Linked DNA regions of Homo sapiens: region 2 is linked to region 1. The links are contacts of gene promoters, found by promoter capture Hi-C in blood cells and fetal thymus (Javierre and others, 2016). All regions are on one chromosome and are shown on one strand. Each heading gives the region's core, a stretch centred on a gene start or on the middle of the fragment in contact. The rest is flanking DNA. Distances are from core to core; before and after follow the strand shown.

The links. The method cuts DNA at HindIII sites, captures the fragments that hold promoters and counts their contacts. A CHiCAGO score of 5 or more calls a contact.
Region 2: a contact is called between a fragment that was not itself captured here and the fragment with the promoter of BDP1 in region 1, in 1 of 17 cell types (endothelial precursors). The highest score is 12.0, in endothelial precursors.

What each region holds. Positions count from the first base shown.
Region 1 is chr5:71,452,854-71,460,184 of GRCh38, reverse strand. It overlaps BDP1 (BDP1 general transcription factor IIIB subunit), which reads right to left and starts at 4,534. Exons shown (of 39, transcript NM_018429.3): 1 at 4,096-4,534; 2 at 1,330-1,606. The coding sequence starts at 4,307. RefSeq lists enhancers at 3,747-4,672, 4,673-5,599. The HindIII fragment of the contact is 8,261 bases long and covers 1,910-7,331 here.
Region 2 is chr5:71,764,582-71,771,912 of GRCh38, reverse strand. No RefSeq gene overlaps it. Among named protein-coding and RNA genes, the nearest start is that of CARTPT, 49 kb to the right of the region's middle. The HindIII fragment of the contact is 1,994 bases long and covers 2,455-4,448 here.

The DNA.
Region 1 (7,331 bases), core at 3,285-5,784:
TGGTCTCGAACTCCTGACCTCAGGTGATCCGCCCACCTCGGCCTCCCAAAGTGCTGGGATTACAGGCGTGAGCCACTGCACAAGGCCCAAGACACCAGTTTAAGTGTGTTTTACATGTATTGACTCATTTAATCTTCACAACCCTCTAATGAGCTAGATAGAGGTTGAGCATCTCTTATCTGAAATACTTGAGACCAGAAATGATTCACATTTTGGATTTTTTCACATTTTTGAATACTTGCAGAATACATGCTGGCTGAGCATCTCTAACCTGAAAATTTGAAATCCAATATGCTCCAATGAGCATTTCCCTGGAGCATCACTTTGGCACTCAAAACATTTTAGACTTTGGAGCATTTTCAATTTCAGGGATGCTCAACCTGAACTATTATTGGTCTATTTTACAGATGAGGAAATAGATTAATTAAATTACCCAAGGTCACAAAGCTAGTAAAGAAATGAAGCTGAGATTCAATCCCTAAGTATTTAACTCCAGGGCCAGCATGCTCTACTGCTGTTACCTGCCCTTCTAGAAAAGAAATCAATCCTCAAGATTAAAAAGAACATGGACTCTAATATATGCATAACACAAATTTTTCCCACTTGTAATTTTCCATAGTCAATTTAGAAAACATTACCAATTCATTCTGCTCAACTATATTCGTCTTTTTTTTGGAGACAGTTTCACTCTATCACCCAGGCTGGAATGCAGAGGCACAATCTCGGCTCACTGCAACTTCCACCTCCCAGGTTCAAGCAATTCTCATGCCTCAGCCTCCCCAGTAGTTGGGATTACAGATGCACGTCACCAGGCCCAGCTAATTTTTGTATTTTTAGTAGAGACAGGGTTTTGCCATGTTGGCCAGGCTGGTCTTGAACTCCTGACCTCAAGTGATCTGCCCCCCTAGTCCTCCCAAAGTGCTGGGATTACAGGCATGAGCCACCACGCCCGGCCTATACTTGTCTTAATTCAAATAAATATATCACTTATCACTTGGACATCTTTATGTGAAAAATCAGACTGAAGGTTTATTTTATAAATATGTTTGTGTATGTGCATCTATGTGTATGCGTATGAAACTTATTTGTGGTCTTCACCAAAAACAGTGAAAACATAAATAAATAATGTAAAAATTACTATCAGTGAAAAATGTAATTTAAGTCCACGGTGTATCAATCAATCCATTAACAAGAAGGGATGTTCTATTGACTAAGGGATGTTATGTGGTTTTGTTCCCCCATCAAAATGCTACAAATGCTTTTCTTCCCAATGATTCCTTACTAACATAAATAGAAGGCAACATCAAAATCCTGATTCTCCTCCCTTACCTTCTCTTTTCTCAATTCTTCTTTTAACATTTCCCTCAGTTTCTGGGCTTTGTATATTCGGTATCTGTCTGAGCATGGCTGTTTCTCTTTTGTTGAAGTGGCAGTTGGCTGTGGAGCCTCTTGATTAATTGTAGATAAGGGATGAGATTCTGAAGGAACACTGACACTAGACTTAACCAGGCTAGAAGTACTTGATATTCGCTTTCTTCTCTGTGAAACAGTAGAGGAAGATCTACTGGATTCTTCAACATCATTGTCACCACCAGTCTTTTCAGTACTGTTGAAATTAAAAAAGAAAAAAGAGGGCACATGAATCTTCTGTTACACATGCTAGTTTTAAAACCTAGTCTGGTGAAAATCCAAAACTGCAATCTCGTAATTAAAAAAAAAAAATTAGTAACTTGAGATTTATGATAATTATGACAGGTTACAAAAAAATTTGTTTAGTAAATCTTTTAAATATACGTAAATTCTAATAGACTCTTAATCTTTTTCAAACATAAAGTCCCTAGGCACATTACAGCACATAATTATAGGCTTACCCCCCTCAAAACAAATAACCAACTTACAGAACAAAGCTTAGTCAACCTAATTTGAATTACTAAGTAACAAAGTAATAATTTATAATTAATTTCTATATAAAATTTAAAAAAATTTTAATTCACTCTGACATTTTAAACTGGTCTAAACTACCGGCATTTTACTTTACTTATCAACCCGAGGTCAGTCAAATCAAATATGCAAAACTCCAAACCTCTGAAATATCTGTATTGCAGTATTTGAAGAAAAACATTTAGTTACAGTAGCCAAACCCAATTCCCTTTGAGGCAGAAATCATTTATCTTTTGTCAGGTACAACTCTACTTATACAGCCATCAGAATAAACTTCAGTCAAAAAAAGTACTCAGTCACCCCAAATTGCATATTAGGTATGGTATACCTCAGATATAAGTATTTCAGGAATGGTCTATAAATGCAACTTAAGTCAAGAAAAGAGGTGGTATAAGTCAATAATTAAAAACAGTCTACTTTTTTCCTATTTTATAATTACTTATAAAAAATTAGAAAATGCCTTAACTTATAGAATAACCTTTCCAGGAAGACTTCAATTTAAATTCGTATCTTAGCTGTTATGGATACATGCATTATCTGCATTTCACCCAATTATGTTGAATGCATAATGACAGAATATATATCCTATAGAGTTTTACAACTAGCAAAGACCCACAAAAAAATAAAAAGAGGCTGGGCACGGTGGCTCACACCTGTAACCCCAGCACTTTGGGCTGAGGCAGGTGGATCACTTGAGGTCAGGAGTTCGAGTCCAGCCTGGCCAACATGGTGAAACCCTGTCTCTACTGAAAATACAAAAATTAGTTGGGCGTGGTGGGGCACGCCTGTAGTCCCAGATACTTGGGAGCCTGAGACAGGAGAATTGCAAGAACCCGGGAGGTGGAGGTTGCAGTGAGCCGTACCACTGCACTTCAGCCTGGGCGACAGAGCAAGACTCCATCTAAAAAAAAAACTAATTAAAAAAAAAAAAAAAAACCACTTTCCCAGAGTCAGTAATGGCAAAAAAAGTGACTAAAAAACAAATTATATTCCCCAAACGTAAATGTCAACTCAAAAAAAAAAATTAAATATCCTTGACCATAAATATCTCAAAACTACAATCTTTGGGCAATTTATTAAATTATCAACCATCACGCACTCACACATAATTAACGAAATCTCTGAGAACTTTATTAATGTAACAGCGACTAGTATCGGTATCTCCTTTCTGTGTAGAAATTTTGAAACAGATTCATGTAATAAACTTGGAAATTACTAACCATCACTGAACTATCAACGTAACACCATACACTCAGCACCAGTTCAGGCCAATAGAGGAAGATGTTCCAAAAATAAATAAATGTTTCACCTTCCTATCACAGCATAAACAGAATTTGTACTATCTCACTTCACTTAACAAGGCTGTTTACTGATTTCCTCATATATATAGAAACAGAGACCATCTTAGCCTAACATGTCTTAAATTTACTCCATCACCTTTCTAAAAAACTAGTAACTTTTTGCGGGCAACTATTCTGCTATATCCCCTGCAAGGTAGTTAATATGAATTATCTCCAATCTGCACCAAAACGCTCCAAGTAGGCAATATTATTCCCATTTTGCAGATGAGCAAATTCTGCCTGAGAAAAGTTTACCTGTAGACTAAAAGAGTCCTGAATCCAAATATGATACATGACGCTAAAGCCATGCTTCTCTATTCAGGAAACACGGTCACCATAGTTAAAGAGGCACACTTCAATTAAGTGACCAGAACTCTTACTCACTGACATAAATCGGTAAAGCCAAAGCAATACTTATCTTCTCCTTTAAAAAATAAATATTTTATAAATTGAAAGACAAAAACACTTCCCTGCAAAGCACTCCAGAAGGATGAAAACTATAGTGACCTAAATTCTCAAATGAATAGTGTGGATATTCTTCACTTCAGGACTGCCATACCCCGATTCTCCCTACCACCACTTGAAGACATGGTCTCCTCTCGGAGAATCTATAGACCGTGACAAAATCCACACAAGCCACACCCTGCAGGTCAGACAACTAAACTGCAGTTTGGAGTGGTTTCATCAAGCCTCAACTGAAAGGCTTACTGCAAACGAGAGCGGACTCCTGTGATAAAATTCATTTGCTCAGCTTCCAGGTGACATGCCCGGAGAGGCGGGACAAATGAAAATTCTTCCCTCTGCAACCTCTTACCTGCTCCTAGGAGCCTTTTCTTGGGGCTCCGCTCCACCGAAATCGACTGTGGGCACATCTGTGGGCTCCGCGGGCTTGGAAGCAGAGTCCGTGGCAGGATCCGGCGGCCTGGGAGACTCCCGTCCACGCTGGGGATTGGAAGCTGTGGAGCCCCTGGCGCCTACACCAGGCCTGACATTCGGCTTCACGCTAAGGCGTGCCCTGCGGAACATGGCGGAGGCAGGGGGCCCGGGGAGGCAGCCTCACGGCCGCTCACAGCCCCGAGCCCCGGCGGCTGCCCGGAAAGGGGATTAGGAACTACGCCCTCCCCACAAAGCCACACCACCAGCTCAGGGGGCAGCTACCGTAGTTTCACTGCCCCGCCGCCGCCTCCTCCTCTCTCCCGCCGCCGCCGCTTTTTCATGACCCTGCCACACACCGATGGCTAAATTTCACCCTCCTCCCAGCATCCCCGCGCTCACAGGACGCCGCAACTGATTGCGCCATCAGCCAGCGCCGCAGAATGACGTCAGACGCACAGCACTGGGAGCCATGGTAACTACCAAGCTACTGAGACTGGGTTACCTGCGGACCAGAAATTGAGATGCAGAGATATTTGCTCTTTCTTCTCCAGGAGTCCTTAGGAGTAGTTGAAAAGAGGAACAGAAGAAAGTCCACTTCTCTGCTCAAACCTTTACTGGAACTATTAAAATCGCTGGCCGATTTTGTCTTTTGAAGATCCTGAAGGGTTTAGAAATTCTAAATTGAGTAGACATAGATTAAAAATGCTGGTGTGAAGAAACTGATAATAGTTACCTCCCAGGAGAGGAATGTGTTTCTGGAAAACACGTCGTGGTAGGAAGACCATTTACCGTACGCCTTTGTGTACTTTTTTGTTTTTGTCCTTTGAGACAGGGTCTTGCTCTGTCGCCTAGGCTGGAGTGTGCAGTTGCGCGATCTTGGCTCACTGCAGCCTCCACCTCTCGGGCTCAGGCGATCCTCCCGTCACAGCCTCCCAAGTTGCTGGGACCACAGGCACGCGCCACGACACCCGGCTAATTTTTTTTTTCTCGTATATTTAGTAGAGACGGGGTTCATCATGTTGCTTAGGCTGATCTTGAACTCCTAGGCTCAAGCGAGCCACCCATTTGGCCTCCCAAAGTGCTGGGATTACAGACGTGAGCCACCACGCCCAACCTCCTTGTGTACTTTTTAATATGAATGTATCACCCGAGATCGTACCACTACACTCCAGCCTGTTTAAAAATTATTATAGTTGAAACCTTGTAAATTATTGTGAGTGTTCTTAATCTGCTTCAGGAGGTAGCAGTAAACAAGACGTTCTGGATTTGGGAGGAGAAAATACAAAAAAGAAATGAACAAGATATTTTTAAAATGTATCAGGCCCGGCGTGGGTGCCTCATGCCTGTAATCCCAGCATTTTAGGAGGCTAAGGCAAGGCAGATTGCTTGAGGTCAGGAGTTCGAGACCAGCCTGGCCAACATGGTTAAACTCCATCTCTACTAAAAATACAAAAATGAGCCAGGCCTGGTGGTGCAAGCCTGTAATCCCAGCTATGGGAGGCTGAGACAGGAGAATGGCTTGAACCCTGGAGGTGGAGGCTGCCGGGAGCCAAGATGGCACCACTGCACTCTAGCCTAGGCAACAGAATGAGTGAGACTCTGTCTTAAAATAAATGAATTAATTAATTAATTGCAATAAAATAAAGTATATCAAATGTCATGAAATAAATTTAAGGGTTGAATGCCGGGTATGGCGAGGCACGCCTATAATCCCAGCTACTGTGGAGACTGAAGTGGGAGGATCTCTTGAGCCCAAGACTTCCAGACCAACCTGCTCAAAATATTGAGACCCCTAAAACAAATTACCTACATGCGGTGGCTGTGATGGCTCCCACCTCTAGCTCCAGCTACCTGGAAGGCTGAGGCAGGAGGTCCAGGCTGCAGTGAGCTATGATAGTGCCACTGCCCTCCAGCATGGGTGACAAAGTGAAACCTTGTCCTTAAAACAAAAATTTAATAATAAGAAGAAAAAAAAGAGAGAAATGTACAGGATGATGTGATAGAAAGTAATGGGAGGGAGGCTGGCAGTAGAGTGGCTAGGGAAGTCCTCTATGATGAGAGGAAAAATAGCCAGAGCTGAGGTTGGCCTTGGAGGTATTGGGCCAATGTTTGAACCAGTGATACAAATCCCCTGACTCATGGGAACACAAAGGCCTGACTTTCTTCTTAGAAGGAAAAGAAAATCCTACAAGAATATGGTGATACATTAATAACAAAAGGTCAAAGGAATAAAATTCTGAACTGACTGAAGAAATTGATCACCTAAAGGGAGAACAAAAAAGAGGCAAGTGCTTTTGAGAGTAGGAAGGCAAGACTGAAAGCAGAGAAGAGAAAACATATATCTCTAAGACTATGAAGAAAATGAAGGTCTGGAGGCCAGGCACAGCTCGTGCCTGTAATCCCAGCACTTTGGGAGGTTGAGGCAGGCGAATCACTTGAGCCTAGGAGTTTAAGACCAGCCTAGCCAACATGGTGAAACCTCATCTCTACCAAAATTACAAAAATTAGCTGAGCATGGTGGCTTCTGCCTGTAATCCCAGCTACTCAGGAGGCTGAGGTTGGAGGATTGCTTGAGCCCAGGAGGCGGAAGTTGCAGTGAGCCAAGATCACACCACAGCACTACAGCCTGGGTGACAAAGTGAGACCCTGTCTCAAAAAAAAAAAAAAAAAGAGAGAGAGAAAGAAAGGAAGGAAGGAAGGAAGAGAAAAGAGGAGGTCTGTGGATTCCGTGGGCTCCCTGCAATACTCTGGAAAAGGAACAGTATCTCAGTTTTATCTTCTTTATTTAAAGAAGCTCAAGAATTCGAGAGAATACCCTGCTAAAGATGTCTCAGGAATCTTGGAGCCACTGCCAGGTCTACACAGCTTTGAACAGCATATTCTGATACCAACTGAAGACACAGGGCCTTTCCCCAGATGGTCTTCTGTTCCACTTAAGAGACTAGGGCATTGTCCCAAGTTTTTACAGGTCAGAAAGTAAATAGTGACTAAGATTTAATTTCCCACCAGTAAAGGGATGGGAACAGAATCAGATTAAATTTTATTATTAAATATAAAGTCATAAGACATTTGTTACACAAGTTTGTGGAGTAAATTCTTAGTGGCATCATACGAATTTTTTAAATCTCTACTTTTCTCTGAGAGACACACACAACACATTTTGTGTACATGGGG
Region 2 (7,331 bases), core at 2,202-4,701, 310 kb before region 1:
TGTAAAAGCTAAAACTGTAAAATTCTTAGAAGAAAGAATTTTACAGGACTAAATCTTCCTGGATTAGGCAGTAGTTTCTTAGATAAAACACAAAGCATGAAAAGAAAAAAATAGATAAATTGGACTTACATCAAAATTTAAAATTTCTGTGTTTCAAATGATACTGTCAAGAAAATGAAAAGAGAACCCACAGAATGGGAGAAAATATTTGCAAATCATGTAGCTGCCAAGGGACTTCTATACAGAGCAAAGGACTCTTACAACTCAACAATAAGAAGAAGACAAAGAGCTCAACTATTTTAAATGGGCAAAGAATTTGAAAAGACAATTATTTGGAGAAGAAATACAAATAACCAAAAGAACATTTTAAATGTTCAACGGCATGTCATTGGGATAAAGAAAATCAAAACCATTTCATACCCATCAGGATAACCACAATTAAAAAAACAGAAAATAGCAAGTGTTGGCAAGGATATGAAGACATTTTAACCCTCATACTTTCTTTGTGGTATTACAAAATGGCACAGCTGATTTGGAAAACAATGTGATGGTTTCCAAAAAATGTTAAACATGGAGCTAACATGATCCAGCAATTTCACTCCTAGGTATATACAAAAAAAAATTTAAAACATGTGTCCACACAAAAACTTGTCCGCAAATGTTCATAGCAGCCATATTCAAAATAGACAAAAAATGGAAACAATTTAAATGTCAATCAACTGATGAATGGATAAACAAAATGTAATATGCCACTATAAGAGAATATTATTTGTCTATAAAAGGAATGAAATGGTTGGGCGCGGTGGCTCACGCCTGTAATTCCAGCACTTTAGGAGGCCACAGCAGGCGGATCAAGAGGTCAGGAGTTCGAGACCAGCCTGACCAACATGCTGAAACCCCATCTCTACTAAAAATACAAAAAAAAATTAGCCAAGTGAGGTGGCGGGCACCTGTAATCCCAGCTACTCAGGAGGCTAAGGCAGGAGAATCGCTTGAACCCGGGAGACAGAGGTTGCAGTGACCAGAGATCGAGCCACTGCACTCCGGCCTGGGCGACAGAGGGAGACTCCGTCTCAAAAAAAAAAAAAAAAAATGGGAATGAAATAGTGACACATGCTACCACATGAATAAACCTTGAAAACATTATGCTAAGTCAAAGAAGCTAGACACAAAAGGCAACATATTGTAGGATCATTTATATGAAGTTTCAGAATAGGCAAATCCATACACACAGAAGTAGATGCCCAGGTCTGGATGGGTGGAAGGGCAGAGAATGAAGAATGACTGCTAATGGGTGCAGGATTTCTCTTTGGGGTGATGAAACTGTTCTGTAATTAGATAGTGGTGATGTTTGCAGGTTGCACCATTCCAAGTATAGTAAAAATCACCAAACTGCACACATATAAAGGCTGGATTATATGGTATATAAATGATCAAGTAGAGAACAATTAATATACAGTAATTTTTAAGCAGATACACATCATAGATAGAAAATCATAGATAGAAAATCACAGGTAGAAAATGATGTGCAAAGGAATTTGACATCACTTCTGTCCCTGGGTCATGTATTCATCTTTCTCAATTTAAAAAAATACTGAAGTCATTTCATTCAAGATAAATTATCTTTATTATCTACTCTATCAGATTTCTTTCAAACTGAAAAAACAATACATGCTTGTATTGCCGCTTATTTTCCAAGAAAAAAAAATCCTGAGTATCAAAGAAAAACCCAACATTTGCCTTTCCCGTGACTCTCACTCCTGCTATTATCCCTTCCTGAAAACAAGAAATGTTAATTTAGTGTCCACATTTTTCTACATTCATATGAATGCACACAACTGAAAATATTCACACCAATAAAAGGCTTTTCTGATTTTACAAAAAATACAATCATTTATATACATTTCTCTGCAATGTACTTTGCTGGTGGCCTTTCCTATCGGTCATTGCATATAAATCGAACTCCTTATTAGTAGCTATGTAATATTCTAGAAATCTGGACATGCCACAGTTTATTCAATCACTCCCTATTGATGGCATTCAAGTTGTTTTACTTCGCTTTGTCACATTCAATGTGTATCTTTATACATATCCTTATAAGCTAATTCTTTTATTTTTGTAGGATAAAATCCTCCAATATAAGTTTTAAAGACTCAGAAAATCATTACTCGGCTTGGCAATAAAAAAGTTCATTATGTTTCATTAAGCATCCTGCTTGGTGGAATCAGGGGAAAATGTATTTATTTCTCAGCACTGAATCATTACCCTCTGTACAGATTACTTTTGTTTGCAAATACATAAACAAAATACAAATTGCCTATGTTCACCAAACAAAGCTTTAAATTCTAGCTGCACCAGGGAGCAAAGGAGGTATGGTGAGAGACACATTTCCTGGTACAGGAAATGAGCAGCAGGGTGAGGAAGCAGCTTGAGGAAGCACTGCTGGACCAAGCTTCACCTTTGCCTGCAAAATCCCCCTGAAAATAAACACTCCACAGGGGTCCTGAGTGCAGGGTTACAGTTAGGTTTGGGATTAGGCTTAGGTGAGAACCACAAGTCCTTTCAGACCATGCTTGCCCTTATTTAGCTCTCCAGTTTGCTTCTCTTGGTTGGCTGGAGCAGTTTTTTCAAGAAGGTAGCGTGGATGGTGTGATTCCTGCGCCCATACACATCTAAGAATAACTTTCTATTGCCATCACACACAAAAGACAACTTTGCTTATTTTAAACTTTACTTGTCTCCCTCCAAATTCTGTAGATACTGAAGTTTTTTAAGCCTTCTAGCATATAGTGATTGTGAAGATAACACAACTTTTGTTTATTTGCTGGTGTCATTAGAAGGTATTTAAAAATACTCCCATTCCAGCAGGTGTAGCTAAAAAGAGAAAAGAAAAAAAGAAGGTATTTTCAAACCTCCATAATTGTGTGCTCTGCTCCCTGCATTTTTCCCAGGAGTATGTGTAAAGGGGTGTCCGTGTGTGTGTGTGTGTAGAATATAAATAAAGTAAATTAATAAATAAACTCTCTGGCCGGGCGCAGTGGCTCACACTGTAATCCCAGCACTTTGGGAGGCCAAGGCAGGTGGATCATCTGAGGTCAAGAGTTTGAGACTACCCTGGCCAACATGGTGAAACCCTGTCTCTACCAAAAATACAAAAATTAACCAGGCGCAGTGGCATACGCCTGTAATTCCAGCTACTTGGGAGGCTGAAGCATGAGAATTGCTTGAACCTGGGAGGCAGAGGTTGCAGTGAGCCAAGATCATGCCACTGCACTCCAGCCTGGGCAACAGAGCAAGAGTGTCTCAAAAAAAAAAAAAAAAAAAAACTATCATTAAAATGGCCAACAGCTAAACCGTCTGGTCTAATGCACTCACAGCTTATCTAAACTAATAAAATAAGGAAGGAAGGTCATATGAAATATGCCCACAGCAACATGATTATATCAGTAATTGTGAGTCTTGAAGAGCCAAACAGAAAGGCCACAGAAAATTAGCCTGATGTGATAATTTAGAGATCTGATTTTGCTATTCTCTTACTTTATGTTATTCAATGCCACCAGAAGCAGCCATCCTACCCTGTTGTTCCAGAATGTTTAAATTATTTTTTGCCATCAGCTACTCAGTTTTTCAGAGCACCACCTTCTGGCGCACATAGAGGGAACGTAACAGTTGTTTTACACTGTTGGGATACTAACCCGCAATATGAAAGCGAATTTTCCCCCTTTTCCCCATTCTGGCCAGTTTCCCCGCTCCTCAAAAATCTACCTTTCTCTTAGGGTATCTTGCCAACTGGAGCAAAAGTGGAAGTTATAAGCAGAATATAGGGGAACTTAGAACCTAGAAAAGGTAACCCAACAGGTTTGAAAAAGAAACAAGGGCCAATCCTAGAATTTGTAAGAAGTGATAAAAGACATTATGGCATTGCAACTAGGATGAATGAGCAGATACAACTATATTCTGTCATTTTATTGCTCTGCTAAAGTTTCAGTTCCAGAGAGACACTCCTGTCAGTCTCAGGTTGCATTCCCATTTCTTGGCAGGAAAGGACAAAATATCTTGACTTATGGTTCCATTGTAATGACTCAAGTAGAGAGGAGTCAGTTTCCCAAAATAGCATCAGAGTGCTTTTAGGAGAAAAAACTACTCAATAATTCCTGCAATTGACAGATAAATTATCTTTTCTAAATAGATTTATAGGACTTTTTAAAAATCTGTATAATTCAAAATTTTTCTTTGAATATATGTAGATGTGGATCTCTTCTGTTTTCATCTGAAATGCAGTGAACCCCTGCAGCCTGCAAACTTAGGTTTTATTTCATCTTTTATGATTGCTTCTATTCCATGTGTTATGCTGTCTTCCCTAGAAACACAAAGTAATCAAATGTTAGAGGTTTCATTTTCTCTCTTTCCTTCTGCTTGTGCATTTTTTTCTGCATCCTAGAAAAGCTTCTCAAATTTGTTCAGTACATAACTGATTCTGATTTACAGTTAGGTACTGATCATGTTATTGTGCTCTTGGTTTACTTGAAAGCCTTCCATATCTCAACATGCTGTCTTCTTTCAGCCTGTTGTCTCATCATGGTGTTATGTTCCTGTTTCACAACACAATGCCTCATTGAATTCTATTATTGCAGATTCTAAACAATCTCCTGTAATTTTCTTCTTGTTCCTATAGGCTCTTCAGAGATAGAATCTTTCTATGAGGTTCCAGAGTACTGTCCTTTATCCATTGTTCTGCAGTATTTTTTTACTGGGCTCATGTGTTGCTGATGTTTACTCGTTCTCAAATGAGGCAAAATCTATCCATACTCCTTGAAAGCTAACAGGCAGGTGGTATTTGCAATTGACCCCATTCTCTCTCTACTTCAGTATGAATCAAAGAATCCACTCAGGTCTTTAAGGGATAGACCAATGTGTCCTGTTCACAGTTTATTTCCCAGATAGTCATCTTGAGAAATGACCTATTGGTGAAGTAGCATCTTTCCCTACCTCCATGGTCCAGTTCTTCATGATAAGCTTCACTGTGACTTAAAATCACACCGCTCGGCAGTATCTCCCGGTACCTGGACCTTGTGTTTTAGAAAGCCCCACTCTGACATTTTTTTGGATTATGTCTGTCTCTACCGCAAGAGGAATCTGCAAGACCAAGGGCATGTGCCCACCCAGAGCCCTTCTAGACCACTTCCTAGATGCTCAAGAGCCTTGAATTCTCTGCCCAAACAACCCCAAGCCTGCTTGCAGGACCTGTACAGGCCTTGTCCATAGGTGCATCCTCCCAGGGGTAAACCACACCACTGGTATTTACACTCCCAAGCCCAAAGAATGTCCAGGGCAGCTATTTGCAGAGGCTCTGGACATTCCAGGTGGGGCATCCACACACATGTACTCAAAGATGCTTGCAATGAAGGAGACAGTGATGGAAAGGGAAGGGGGCTCAGGTGGGGGCCAATGAGCTTGGGCCCAGCCTTCTCCTAGCCACCACATTTCAGCATGAAACTCCAAGGAGTTTGAAAATTCAAAATTTGAGCCTGGCCTTCCAGACTATTTTGAAAGCGTATTTGTCAAAGTAAGTGTTAGAACTTATTTTATCTAACCTTGAACGCTCGGCCCCAGGTCCTGTAAATATTAGGGGTGACCTAAGGAGCAACTTCTAAGGCTCATCCTGCCTCCTCCCACTCACAAAGAAGCAGCTACTTAGTTCCAGAAGCTCTTCGTAAGTATGTGTGTCAGTAAGTAAAACATAATCAAGAAGGGTCCAAGCTTGCAGTCCCTGGATGGATTGCCATCACACTCATGTGTGAGCAGGGCTCCCGAAGCTTTAAAACTGGCTGTGCTGTTCTCTTTGCTTTACCTACACTCTATCAGGCATCTTCTAAAATTAAACTGTTGCATCCACATTGAAAATCTCCTCAGGCAGGTGTCATCCACACCACCTCCTTCTCACCGCCTCAATGATCTCCAACAGTATTCTACAGAATTTTTAGCAACCACGGTGTAAACCACCTTCGTGTTCCAACCAGAACTCCTGGGATCTGTGTGTGTGGTGTGTGTGCACTCCTCCAGCTTCCGTGTGTCTTTACTTCTAACAGCCCATACCTGTGGCTCTTTTAGAGGACTGCCATCAGGCTACAAGGCCACTTTGCCACAACAGGCAGAAAACAAGGAACACTTGGGAATTTACATCTCCTTGTTTGGCCCTTAGACAATGATCAACTTGTATTGGAATATGAAACCCAGCTCCCTGGCCTGAGTCTGATCAAACTCTCAGGGTAACTTACCCACCAGGGTTCCTCGGATACATCAAGCCAAAGCTACCTCCCGCAGGGCTTTACCTGAAATCACACACTTCCGCTTCCCTGTCCTGCTTCCCCTGCTCCTCACCGGTTTCTCATAGGAACTTCAGTATCCGCACCTGGGAAAGCCAGCCTAAGACACGTGGTCTTCCTTCTCCCCACCTCGGGACTTAATTTAATGTTAAGCAGATTCCAGTGAGGCTTGGGCCTTTGGAACCATCCAAGGCATGCAGAGTTTGCAACAATATTTGCAGCAGCAGCCCCTCTGCCATGTTTAATCTGTAATCTCTCAAACCAACTCCTAGCCCTATCTGAAATTAACAATAGGTCAATAGGCATCTGGTGTTGATGCTGATCCCACGGCCATTGTTAGGGGATCTTAATGACTTTTTTTCTTTTTCTTGGGAAACATGGGGAATTAGAACATTGTGATTTTTATTTATTGCTCTTGAGTACCCATCTTTCCGAAAATAAATTATACTAAACTCAACAAGAGATGAGGTCATTTTATGTTTGCCAAATTCCAATGAGAAATCTCAGTCCAGAAATTATGCTTTCTTACTGATTTAATGAATATATTTTAAAAATAAAGAGGAAAAGAATTTCCCAGTAAATCCACCTCAAATGAGGTAAAAGTTACACTTAGATGCCCCAAATGCCACTATGGCCAATAATTTCTTCCCAGGGAAGTAAGAGAAGAGGACAGAGCCCCTCCCATTCTGAGGGAATCACTTGGTTGTATCCACCCCATAAAACATATAAGCAGAAGTCATAAGTATGCCAATGCCTAGAAAAAAATTATCTCACCATAAAAGCCAAAAAACAGTAGAATAGCATCTAGGTGTGATTTGCCATTGTCCAGTGCAGAGAACAAGAAGTATATTAGAAAATCCTTTAGTCCAGTGTCATGTGGCAGCCAGCTCAAGCTGGCTTTGGAACCTATTACACATCTTTCCCCAGCTCCAAGTTTAGTGAGGTCAGGCTCATTGTTTGAAATCAGCCATGCTGGGAGTATTTACACCATAGAAATTGGCAAAT